Linked DNA regions of Homo sapiens: regions 2, 3 and 4 are each linked to region 1. Evidence: promoter capture Hi-C in human tissues and cell types (Jung and others, 2019). All regions are on one chromosome and are shown on one strand. Each heading gives the region's core, a stretch centred on a gene start or on the middle of the fragment in contact. The rest is flanking DNA. Distances are from core to core; before and after follow the strand shown. Region 1 holds the start of MAP3K3 (mitogen-activated protein kinase kinase kinase 3). Region 2 overlaps TANC2 (tetratricopeptide repeat, ankyrin repeat and coiled-coil containing 2). Region 3 has its middle 9.8 kb from the start of MARCHF10-AS1. Region 4 overlaps TANC2 (tetratricopeptide repeat, ankyrin repeat and coiled-coil containing 2).

The links. The method cuts DNA at HindIII sites, captures the fragments that hold promoters and counts their contacts. A contact is called where the count stands out against the background at its distance.
Region 2: a fragment that was not itself captured here is called in contact with the fragment with the promoter of MAP3K3 in region 1 in 1 of the 25 tissues and cell types used here (hippocampus).
Region 3: a contact is called between a fragment that was not itself captured here and the fragment with the promoter of MAP3K3 in region 1, in 1 of the 25 tissues and cell types used here (dorsolateral prefrontal cortex).
Region 4: a fragment that was not itself captured here is called in contact with the fragment with the promoter of MAP3K3 in region 1 in 1 of the 25 tissues and cell types used here (hippocampus).

What each region holds. Positions count from the first base shown.
Region 1 is chr17:63,620,833-63,623,674 of GRCh38, forward strand. It overlaps MAP3K3 (mitogen-activated protein kinase kinase kinase 3), which reads left to right and starts at 1,585. Exons shown (of 16, transcript NM_002401.5): 1 at 1,585-1,931. The coding sequence starts at 1,928. RefSeq lists silencers at 826-895, 1,506-1,895, 1,986-2,045, 2,286-2,335. The HindIII fragment of the contact is 13,015 bases long and covers 1-2,842 here.
Region 2 is chr17:63,090,116-63,093,281 of GRCh38, forward strand. All of the region lies in intron 3 of TANC2 (tetratricopeptide repeat, ankyrin repeat and coiled-coil containing 2), which reads left to right. Among named protein-coding and RNA genes, the nearest start is that of TANC2, 130 kb to the left of the region's middle. The HindIII fragment of the contact is 7,427 bases long and covers 1-3,166 here.
Region 3 is chr17:62,694,817-62,697,927 of GRCh38, forward strand. No RefSeq gene overlaps it. Among named protein-coding and RNA genes, the nearest start is that of MARCHF10-AS1, 9.8 kb to the right of the region's middle. The HindIII fragment of the contact is 8,069 bases long and covers 1-3,111 here.
Region 4 is chr17:63,072,316-63,075,257 of GRCh38, forward strand. TANC2 (tetratricopeptide repeat, ankyrin repeat and coiled-coil containing 2) reads left to right here. Exons shown (of 28, transcript NM_001394998.1): 3 at 1,628-1,699. Among named protein-coding and RNA genes, the nearest start is that of TANC2, 110 kb to the left of the region's middle. The HindIII fragment of the contact is 3,473 bases long and covers 1-2,942 here.

The sequences.
Region 1 (2,842 bases), core at 335-2,834:
CGTCTCTACTAAAAATTCAAAAATTAGCCGGGCGTGGTGGCGCACGCCTGTTAATCCCAGCTACTTGAGAGGCTGAAGCAGGAGAATTGCTTGAACACGGGAGACGGAGGTTGCAGTGAGCCGAGATCGCGCCACTGCACTCCAGCCTGGACGACAGTGTGAGACTCCATCTCGAAAAATAAAAAAGAAAAAGAAAAGAAATAGGGGAGAGCCCAAGGTAATTCTTAAGGGATTTGACACTCAAGGCAAAGCCACCACTAAATGTTCTTAGTGGACAGTGGACAATGACATCTGAGGAAGATTATTCTGGAGCCTGACATATTACACTGGAACAGAGGCCGGAGAAAGGAGCCCACATTAATTGTGGTGGACTTGGAATCTGAAGATCTGAGTGTATAAAATGTTGAACAATGAAAAGGTTGGGGAAATTAATTATGGTGCCTTTAATTTTGAAACATCATGCAATCAGTACAATTGTTTTGGAAGGATATTTGGTGGCACGGGAAAACAGAATAAAATGTAAGCATACTACAAAACAATACAAAGCCATTTTTGTCAAACGCCTATCTAGGTAGGAAATAGATTATCTCTGGGGTGGGATCTTTTCTTTTTCATAGTTTTCTGCATTTTTCAATTTTCCTACAAAAAGCTCGTGTTGCTTTTATAAGAAAAAAGTTATTTTCTGAAAGAACCTCTGGCGGAACTCAGATTTCCAGGGACCCACATGCCAGCACTATCCCAGCCTCGGGTGTCTGAGGTACCTAGACCAGAGGGTGTGGCCCTGGAGGTGTGAGACAGGGAAAGCTGGGCTGGGCCGGCCGCCCCTGCCCGGGGCAAGAGCAGCGTCGGGACCGGAGGACCAGTCGGGGGATGGGGCCGCAGAGGTGGCCGCGCGCCGGGAAGTGCTCAGGCCAGACCCTCCCCACTCGTTACACGCCCTGTGCTGGGCACGGGGAGGAGCAGGACGCCACCCTCTGGAACCACCCAGATCGCTGGGGCCTCCGAGAACCCGGAGGGCGGAAGGCCTGAGGGCCCCCTGCAGCCGCCTACTCCTCACCCCAGCCCTAAAGTAGCCGGCGGGGAACTGCGCCAGCCCGCGCGCCCGCCGAGCCTTCGGTGACTGACGGGAGGTGGGAATGTGGGCGGAGCCTCACGCCGGAGCTGTGATTGGAACAACCAACACCTCCCAATCTCTCCCAAGAGAGGGAGACAGCACCAGAGAGGGATGCGCAGAGGCGGGGGCTTAGAGGCCTCTACGTGATTGGCTAACAGCGCAGGGAGCCGGGCGCTGTCCCGATGATTGGCAGGCGCTAGACAGCCCTCGGAAACCGCCTTGGCTTCGCCCATTGGCATCCTGTGAGAGTAGGCGGGATTGGTTCATCGTGTGGTGCTGATGATTAGCTGGCCGCTGAGAGTTAGGGTGTTGGGAGAGAGTTGGAGGGGGACGGCGGGGGCTGCCGACTTCCTTCTTGTTATTGGCTGGTGAGGTGGGTGGGGGTGGTGCGACGGCCCAGCGGCTGCCTGGGATTGGTGGGGGCCGGCGTGAGTGACAGACAGGGGGGCGAGCTGCGCGACCAGCGGTTTGTTTTTCGGAGCGTTCCTGAGGTGGAGAACGGTGGCCGGACGGAGAGACTGCGGGTCTGAGGGACTGGCGGGCGGGCGGGCCGAGCGGCGCCGCCGAGGCCGGGCTGGGCCGAGCCCAGGAGCGCCCGGGATGTAGCGGGCCACCCTGCCGATGCCACAGCGCCCGGCCGCGGGCGGAGCCGGAGCCGGAGCCTGGGGAGGCGGCGGGGGCCCAGAGCGCAGCCCGCGCCCCCCGCGCGGAGCCAGGCCCGCTGCCGTCCCCGCCGCCCGGGCCCCCGGCATGCAGCCCCGGCTGCGGAGGTGACACTCACGGACCTTAGCCACCGCCGCCGCCATCGCCACCATGGGTAAGTGTCGCCACCGCCCCGGCCTGTGCCCGCGCTGCTTCGCGACGCCCCGCCCCAGGCTGAGGGAGGAGGACCCTGGGCCACCGCCTGACAGGCATGGACAGCCCGCCCGGCCCGGGGCTGCGGACCGCCGGCCGGCCGGCCGCCCGCCCCGCTCGCGCGCCGCGGCCCGGGCGGGGGTTCTGGCTCCGCGGGGCGGCCCGGCCGGCAGAGCCCGCTCGGCAGCCCTCCTTCTGGGCGGCGCGGCGGGCGCATCCCGGGGAAGCGGCGGCGGGACCGAGGGCCCGTGCTCCGCGGGGCAGCCTGGTCCGAACGAGCCGGACCGCGAGCCCGAGGGCGGGGGAGCAAGAGCGCAGTGTGGGGCCCGGGCTGGAGGCTGCCGCAGGCCCAGCTGCTGTTGTGTCTTTTCCTTGATTTGCTTTTTTTTCCTGCCTGTGTCATTTCCTTCCCTTTGCTCACACAGGCCGGCCTGTGAGAGTTCCCGGGGCTTGCTCTCCAGCCCTGTGCGCGCCCCAGCGCAGGGGGGAGGGCGTGCGGGGCTCGGCTAGGAGGCGATTAAACTGGAGCTGTGATCAAGCGCGCGGTTGACAAATGCGTGCTGCACGCAGATTGCTGGGGGTCAGGAGTTGGTCGGATGCTGCCAGTTAGAATTCACATCCTACTTTTTGAAAAATCCCGTTGCAGGGGTTTAATCCATTATTTTTTTCTTGCGGTATCCCTGAAATTATGTAACTTTTGAAAGAAACATTTGCTACACAAAAGAATTTCTCTGAAATCACTTCCTTTTTGTCAGTATTTACAATTTCTACTGTGAAGATGTAATCTAAGGAAAGCTTTTAATGTCTTCCGCACGTAGCATTTGAGTTGAATTATATTCCATATCCTTTTTGGTAGTTTAGCAAATGACTACT
Region 2 (3,166 bases), core at 7-2,506, 530 kb before region 1:
TTAAGTGTTTTCTAATACTATAGTATTTCCCAGAATATTCTGTAAATGAAGCCATGTAGTATATAGTCTTTTGACCGTATTACTGACTTTTTTTTTTGAGTTTTTTTTTTTTTGTACTTTAAGTTCTAGGGTACATGTGCACAATGTGCAGGTTTGTTACATATGTATACGTGTGCCATGTTGGTGTGCTGCACCCATTAACTCATCATTTACATTAGGTACATCTCCTAGTGCCATCCCTCCCCACTTTCCCCACCCCACAACAGGCCCCGGTGTGTGATGTTCCCCTTCCTGTGTCCATGTGTTCTCATTGTTCAGTTCCCACCTATGAGTGAGAACGTGTGGTATTTGCTGTCCTTGCAATAGTTTGCTCAGAATGATGGTTTCCGGCTTCATCCATGTCCCTACAAAGGACACGAACTCATCCTTTTTCATGGCTGCATAGTATTCCCTGGTGTATATGTGCCACGTTTTCTTAATCCAGTCTATCATTGATGGACATTTGGGTTGGTTCCAAGTCTTTGCTATTGTGAATAGTGCTGCAATAAACATACGTGCGCATGTGTCTTTATAGCAGCATGATTTATAATCCTTTGGGTATATAGCCAGTAATGGGATGGCTGGGTCAAATGGTATTTCTACTTCTAGATCCTTGAGGAATCACCACACTGTCTTCCACAGTGGTTGAACTAGTTTACAGTCACACCAACAGTGTAAAAGTGTTCCTATTTCTCCACATCCTCTCCAGCACCTGTTGTTTCCTGACTTTTTAATGATTGCCATTCTAACTGGTGTGAGATGGTATCTCATTGTGGTTTTGATTTGCATTTCTCTGATGACCAGTGATGAAGAACATTTTTTCATGTGTCTGTTGGCTGCATAAATGTCTTCTTTTGAGAAGTGTCTGTTCATATCCTTTGCCCACTTGTTGATGGGGTTGTTTGTTTTTTTTTTTTGTAAATTTGTTTAAGTTCTTTGTAGATTCTGGATATTAGCCCTTTGTCAGATGAGTAGATTGCAAAAATTTTCTCCCATTCTGTAGGTTGCCTGTTCACTCTGATAGTGGTTTCTTTTGCTGTGCAGAAGCTCCTTAGTTTAATTAGATCTCATTTGTCAATTTTGGCTTTTGTTGCCATTGCTTTTGGTGTTTTAGACATGAAGTCCTTGACCATGCCTGTGTCCTGAATGGTATTGCCTAGGTTTTCTTCTAGGGTTTTTATGGTTTTAGGTCTTACATTTAAGTCTTTAATCCATCTTGAATTAATTTTTGTATAAGGTGAAAGGAAGGGATCCAGTTTCAGCTTTCTACATATGGCTAGCCAGTTTTCCCAGCCCCATTTATTAAATAGGGAATCCTTCCCCCATTTCTTGTTTTTCTCAGGTTTGTCAAAGATCAGATGGTTGTAGATGTGTGGTATTATTTCTGAGGGCTCTGTTCTGTTCCATTGGTCGATACCTCTGTTTTGGTACCAGTACCATGCTGTTTTGGTTACTGTAGCCTTGTAGTATAGTTTGAAGTCAGGTAGCATGATGCCTCCAGCTTTGTTCTTTTGGCTTAGGATTGTCTTAGAAATGCGGGCCCCTTTTTTGGTTCCATATGAACTTTAAAGTAGTTTTTTCCAATTCTGTGAAGAAAATCATTGGTAGCTTGATGGGGATGGCATTGAATCTATAAATTACCTTGGGCAGTATGGCCATTTTCACAATATTGATTCTTCCTATCCATGAGCATGGAATGTTCTTCCATTTGTTTGTGTCCTCTTTTATTTCGTTGAGCAGTGGTTTGTAGTTCTCCTTGAAGAGCTCCTTCATATCCCTTGTAAGTTGGATTCCTAGGTATTTTATTCTCTTTGTAGCAATTGTGAATGGGAGTTCACTCATGATTTGGCTCTCTGTTTGTCTGTTATTGGTGTATAAGAACATATTACCCATTTTTAATTTTTGTGCACACATCAGAAGTTCATTCTTTTTATTGCTGAGTAAGATTCTGTTGCATGTATATGTCACAATTTGTTCATTCATCAGTTGATGGACATTTGGGTACTTTTCAGTTTGTGGAGAGTAATAATTTTTCTATTTGTGTGTGGGAGGAGGGACATATATCTTCATTTCTTTTGGGTAAATTCCTAGGAGCTGGATTTCTGGGTCATATGGTAGGTTTACTTACAAACTGCCAAACTGTTTCCCAACTTATATATACCAGTTGATATTGTCACCAGCAGTATATGAGAGCTGTAGTTCATTCTTGTCAGCACTCGGTTTTGCTGGTATTTTTTTTTTTTAGCCATTTTACTAGGTGTGTAGTAGTAACTCCTAGTTTGAATTACTGTAATGATTAATGATGTTGAGCATCTGTATTAGGCCATTCTTGCATTGCTATAAAGAAATACCTGAGACTGGGTAGTATATAAAGAAAAGAGGTTTAATTGGCTCACAATTCTGGAAGCTGTACAGGAATCATGGTGCTGGCATCTGCTTGGCTTCTAGGGAAGCTTTAGGGAACTTTCAATCATAGTGGAAGGTGGATGGGGAAGCCACCTTCTCACATGGCGGGAGCAGGAGCAAGGGGTGGAGGGAGGTGATACATACTTTTAAATGACCATATCTCATGAGAACTCACTATCACGAAGACAGCAACAAGCTATGAGGGATCCCCCTCCGGCCATCATCCAAACACCTCCCAACAGGCCCACCTTCAGTATTGGTGATTACAGTTCAACATGAGATAGGGGCGGGGCAAATATCCAAACTATATTATCATCCATGTTTCTTACTTAGTGAAGCGTCTGTTCAGATCTTTTGCCCATTTTTAAAATTGGGTAGTTTGCATTCTTGTTCCTGAGTTAAGAGTTCTTACAGCCTAACTACTAGTCCTTTATTAGATATGTGTTTTGCAAGTATTTTCTTTCAATCGGTACTGCTTTTCATTTTGTAACACTATCATTTGAAGAGTAGAAATTTTTAATTTTTGTGAATTCCAGTTCATCCGTTTTTTAATATGGTTCATCTTTTTGGGATCCTTTGTAAGAAATCTACCTGACCCAAGGTCACACAGATTTTCTCCTGTGTTTTCTTCTAAAATGTTTATAATTTTATAGTTTTATAGTTTCTTCTAATAGTTTTATAGTTTTTTTTTTTAACATTTTCAGTCTGTGACTAATTTCTC
Region 3 (3,111 bases), core at 458-2,957, 930 kb before region 1:
TTCCACTTTTATGAATAGACAATGCAGTCACGCAGTCTGCATTGCGTGGGATACCTAAATGATATCCCAAGATAGATGTTGCGCAAGTCCTGCCCCTGCCCGTCGCCCTCCAGCCTATACCCTCCTGCCCTGTCAGTTTCCTGTCTTTCCAGTGTTTCTTTGTGAAAGCAAATGAACGCCAGATTGGACTGAAGGGATGGCGGATGCCCTTGCTGGGGATGGGATCTGCCTGGGGAAAGGCAGTGGGAGTCAGGAAGCACTCCAAGCTTCCCGCCTGGACTGCAGGGTGAATGGGGTGCTGTTTCCTGAGACAGGAGCCCTAGGGAGAGCCCATGAGCTGCTGGCCTGAGTCCAGGACTACGGTGGAGCCCAGGGGACCCCCTCCAGCAATCCTCTCTGTGCCGCCCCAGCAACAGCAGGACCCATGGAAGGCGCCTAATCACTCAGGGGAGGGAGTCCCAGTCCTGTGGGAGGTTCACCCTGGAGTGAGTTGCTATCTAGCCCTGCAGCCCAAACAGCTCCCTTTGTGAGTTAAGTGCCCTGCCACTGCCCACAGTGAGAGGTGAAGCCAGCTGGACTTCCTAGGTTGAGTGGGGACTTGGAGAACTTTTCTTACAAGAGGTTTGTAAAATCAGTGCTCTGTAAAAATGCACCAATTGGTGCTCTGTAGCTAGCTAGAGGTTTGTAAAATGCACCAATCAGTGCTCTGTAAAAATGCACTAATCAGCACTCTGTACCTGGCTAGAGGTTTGTAAAATGGACCAATCAGCACTCTGTAAAATGGACCAATCAGCAGGACATGGGCGGGGACAAATAAGGGAATAAAAGCTGTGTCCTCCCCACCCACCCCACCCCTAGCAGCAACCCGCTCAGGTCCTCTTCCATACTGTGGAAGCTTTGTTCTTTCACTCTTCACAATAAATCTTGCTGCTGCTCCTCACTCTTTGGGTCCGTGCCACTTTTAAGAGCTGTAACACTAGGCCAGGCATGGTGGCTCACGCCTGTAATCCCAGCACTTTGGGAGGCCGAGACAGGCAGATCATGAGGTCAGGAGATCAAGACTATCCTGGCTAACATGGTGAAACCCCATCTCTATTAAAAATACAAAAAATTAACTGGGCGTGGTGACAGGCGTCTGTAGTCCCAGCTACTCGGGAGGCTGAGGCAGGAGAATGGCGTGAACCCAGGAGGCGGAGCTTGCAGTGAGCCGAGATTGTGCCACTGCACTCCAGCCTGGGCGACAGAGCGAGACTCTGTCTCAAAAACAAAAAAAAAGAGCTGTAACACTCACCGTGAAGGTCCGAGGCTTCATTCTTGAGGTCAGTGAGACCACGAACCCACTGGAAGGAACCAACTCCAGACACAACACCACAAGAAACATTGGGGGAGAGGCCCCCCAAGACCCTAGTGACTCTAACCTCGGGAGAGAAGAAAGGTCAAGGAGTGAGGTCCGGATCACTAGCTTGAGGGGTGGGAGGGAGCAGCGGAGGGACGGAGGACCCCAGTGGCCAGAGCTGCCCTCGTCAGTGGCTGGTGCCTGCTCTCCTCACGTCTCTCTGCCTTGCTCAGGTGACGAGTCTCCCCAGGGCCCTGCACCCACCTGCAAGCATTTCAGACAGCGTCACGGGTGCCTGGAGGCTACCCCTAGACCTCGTTCTAAGCCTGCCCAGAGATGACTAAGGGAGGCTCCTGCATCTCTCTGAAGGGGCAGGAGGCAGGCTCTGGATGCCGGCCACTCACCCTCTGGCTCAGGATAGCCCTGGTGGCAGTCTCCTTCCTTTCTGCTCATTTCATTTCAATACATCAAGTACCTCCTCTACATACCAGGCTCTTTGCTGGGTGGCAGATGCCCCCAAGCCTATCCTGGCAGGCCTGGGCAATCAGCACTGTATGCCAGGCGCTAGGCCCAGCCTTCACTTGCAGGGTTAACCCGCCCCGCTCTGGCCACCTGGATCCGTGAATGAATGGGAGAATGCGGCTGCTCTCCAGAGAACAGCATTCTCTCAACCGCTTCTTGTCGCGCCAGAGATGGCCTCCTCGAAGGTGTGCTGGCAGAGCTGGCCTGGCCCAGTGGGCAGCCCTGTGAGGCCGCAGGGGTGAGGAGCCGCCAGCCACACCACATGGCTCTCCTGGAACGGAGCCACCTGAGCCCGGCCAAGCCGCCTCGAGCACCAGGGCTTGAGTCCATTGCAGGCACAAGGCAAAGAATTGCGACTTGAGGGAGGACCCGGAGGAAGGCAGGCTGGAGGGAGGGAGGGCGGGCAAAGGACAGCAGGGAAATGAAGGGGGCTGTGAAAGACCAGCACCAGATGAAAGTACCGAGATGTTCCGGACAGGCCTGATTTTCTTTATCTTCGGGGCTGGGACTGCCAAGAGGCCCCGGGGAAAGCCTGCAGGCTTCACTCCCACCAGAACCAGCACCATTTGAGGGACAGATTTCAATCCTTCCTTGGCCAGACAAGCAGGCGGGATGCCAGCGCTGGAGAAAGGGGAGGAGGAGGAGCGGTGGGCAGGCCTTTCCTGCTGGAGGTGGACACGCTGGGGGCGCTGAGGTTCAAGGCCACACAGTGAGGAGTGCAGAACCTTAACTGTCTCCTTGCATCGGCTGATGGCAGAGCTTTAGTTATAGCCATTTCAGGGAAATCCTGGTCAGTTAAGGTTTTCTAGTGCAGTTGGGATTTTCGCCTATATTTCCAGGTGCCTCTAAGGTCCTATGGAGCGTCCAGGTTTCACAGCTGGGGGAGGGACATCTGGTTCCCGGTCATTTATGTCCCCGCTGGCTTATGCAGGGGTGTCCTGCCCTTCTGCATCTCCCTCAGGGACTTGGGGAACCTTGGATGGTGTCTTTCCTCATACTGGGGCTGCAGGGGGCTCAGAACACTGCCTCTGACCCACTATTCCTCCATGACAATGATAATAACAAAATAGGTATTATTTACTATGTACACGCCCTGTTCTAACTGCTTAACACGTATTAACTCACTTAATCTTCCCAATACAACATAAGGTAGGTGCTACTGTCCCCCTCTTACAGATGAGAAAGCTAAGGCACAAAGGTGAAGAACTTGCCATGCCACCTCTCCTCCCTGCACTGGAAAACGTGTTGTGGGG
Region 4 (2,942 bases), core at 196-2,695, 550 kb before region 1:
TCCTTTAAAAGGACAAAATTAAAGAATTTAAGTTTTAATTTCAACAGAGGCAGATCAGCCATTCAGAGATGATAATCCATGAGTAGATTTTTGCTTTAATTTTTAAAAATAATGTCAAAGAAAAATTTCTTATATTTGTCTTTCAGATAACACCTTATTTTGTCAACATGTCTATTTTTATTCAAATGTGGTAACTTATATAGTAACAGCAGAACTAAAATAAACTGATTTATATTTAAAAAGTATTTTCATACTGGAGGAAAAAATATGGTTGCCTATCACTTTGAGTATCTTTCTATGTGATAAGTTATTTTACAAATCTGACTAAATTAGTGGAGTGTTTTACTAGATTACTGTGGACTAAGAGATATGAATATTTCCTGGCAATGTACTTATTATTTTGTATTGTCGTCGTATATTTGGAATCGATTGATTAAATGTTACTGTACTTGCTAGTTTAACAGCCCTCTACAAAATAGAGAATAGTTGATATATATACATGAATTGGATTTAATTATTGCTAGGCCTTACATATAATAAATATACTTAAAAGGAAGCTTTATATCAATAATGAATTAAAAAACAGGCCATTCTGTTTAAAAAGCAATAGATGTTACTACACGAGCTCTATTAAAAACAATAAACCATAGAATAAGTAGATGACAGAGCAAGAATACTCTTTATTAAACCTGCTTGCAGCTACTACCCCTTTTCCCTGTCAAGTTAAAAATAAGACAAGTGATTGTATGAAAGAACGAACAAAGGAAATTGTTTGATGCCTTAATGCATTTTTCATCTGATTAAAGTGATAACAAATTTATAGGTGTATAGACCACTATGTTAAAGATTTTGCTTGGTTTAGTTTCATATTTTATATTATACTTTACATTCTTAATATATTAATTTCTGTTTTACTGTGCCTATTTTAATGAATTTATGATGCATAATTTTTCTGTTTCTATATAACAAAATTGAGGCAATTATTTACAATAAAGTAAAATTTGTTTTAGCTTTTCTTAACATGCATGAGGGAATATACTGTTTTGGTTATTTCTTAAAAGAAGATGTATACAATGAAATGGATTTGTTTCTATATAATTTTAAAAATCATGGTAAAATAAACTCAAGATTTATTTGGTTTTTAGCTTTTATTGATTTATTTTATAGGTTTATTGATTTTTATTTCATAAAACATACGAATGTAATTCTTATTATAGTAAAACAGTACTAGGGATTATTTGATGTGCTGTTGTACTTTAGACAGAAAAAGCAGCTGTAATTAATTTAAAAGATTGTTTTAAATCAGGCCTTCTTAACTGGAATTCTGTGACTGAACTTTGGTGTTGATAACTTTCCTTCATTATATGCAAAGTAGAGTATATACATATGGGGGAGGGGAAAAACACCTACACTTTCTTAAGACTTCAAGAGGGGAGTGTAAACCCACAAAAATCAGGGTAAGAACCATTGGTTTATATAAGAAAAATCCTCAAATATTTTAATGATCCGGATTATAGGAAATACAAATAAATGATCGATATAGTAGTTTTAAATGTAGATAATGTCAGAGACACTGTTATGTCAATCTCATTATCTATTTGCTTATGCTCCTTTTAATTTTATGCAGATGGAGGGAGCGAGGAACCACCGGATCGAAGACAGTCAAGTGTAGACTCTCGCCAAAGCCGCTCTGGGCAAGGTAAATTTTCATCAGATTGATTATTAAATTTCAAAAAATAACGATAGATATTTCTTTCTAGTACTTAATTTGGAGACTAGGATATTGCCATGGTATAGTTTAGATATTCTAGTTTCTCATTTAGGATTTAAATGATATGATGTAAAAATCTATATATTATTTATTCAAGATATATGAAAATTAAATATTGTCTTGTGCCTGTTTTTTTAAATGATATTAACTTTTAAGTAATTTTGAAGCATTATGGTATATATCTGGATATCACTTTTGGAATGGATCCAAAAGTGAATTTTCAACACCAACATTTGTTGGAGTATCATCACACACTGGCTTTTTAAATTTCATCAATATAGTATTTGTTGTCTTAGCTGTCTCAGAAGAAATGGTTTTTGTTGGTAATTGCTATATTAGGATCTTCCTACTTATTTTTCTTTTCTATTTAAAATTTATTATCATAGGCCTTTGATTAATTTTTGAAGGGACAACTTCAAAACTAGGTAAAAACATTCTGAGTCAGTGAAATACCCAGTTAGACCTTTTCTAACTTATTTAACATTGCATGACCACCAGCTCTCTATTCCTTTTTCTTTATAGTACTTACCACCTTCCTATTTATTCTGTTTATTTTCTCTGTTCAAAACTAGAATGGATGTTGCGTGATAGCAGTGATTTTTATGCTTTGTTCACTGCTGTATCCTTATGTGCCAATAATAAGTACATAGTATATAGTAGTCACTAAATAAATGGTGAATGAATGATCTGAAAGAGAATGAGTTGAGAACCCAAAATGATGAAAAATAGATTATAAAATTTCAGACAATCATTTATTGAGTTTGGTTTTCAAAGAATCTTTAATAGCATAAAATAAAATAAAGCTGAGATTTACAGATGTGCAGTTTTTAATCCTGTAAAAGCTTCAGATTTATTTATTCTATAATCGTGTCCCTCTTTTTCTCCAAGTTTGCTCTTCCCAGTTTTTAGAGCTGTACTATTTTTATAAAACTGTTTGTTGCAGATTAAAAAGAGGAATAATATGAGTTGAAAATTTTAACTTATGCTAATACTTAATCATACTTAAGTAATAAGCATGTATTATGACTATGTCTGGAATTTATCTTATTCACTCTTATTTTCCCTGTAAACATATTTTGATATAAAAATGAGATTATGTAAAACTCTAAAAATAAAATTAGTACAAATTACTACTAAAATTGTAATTATTAAATGTCAAATTTTATTAAGT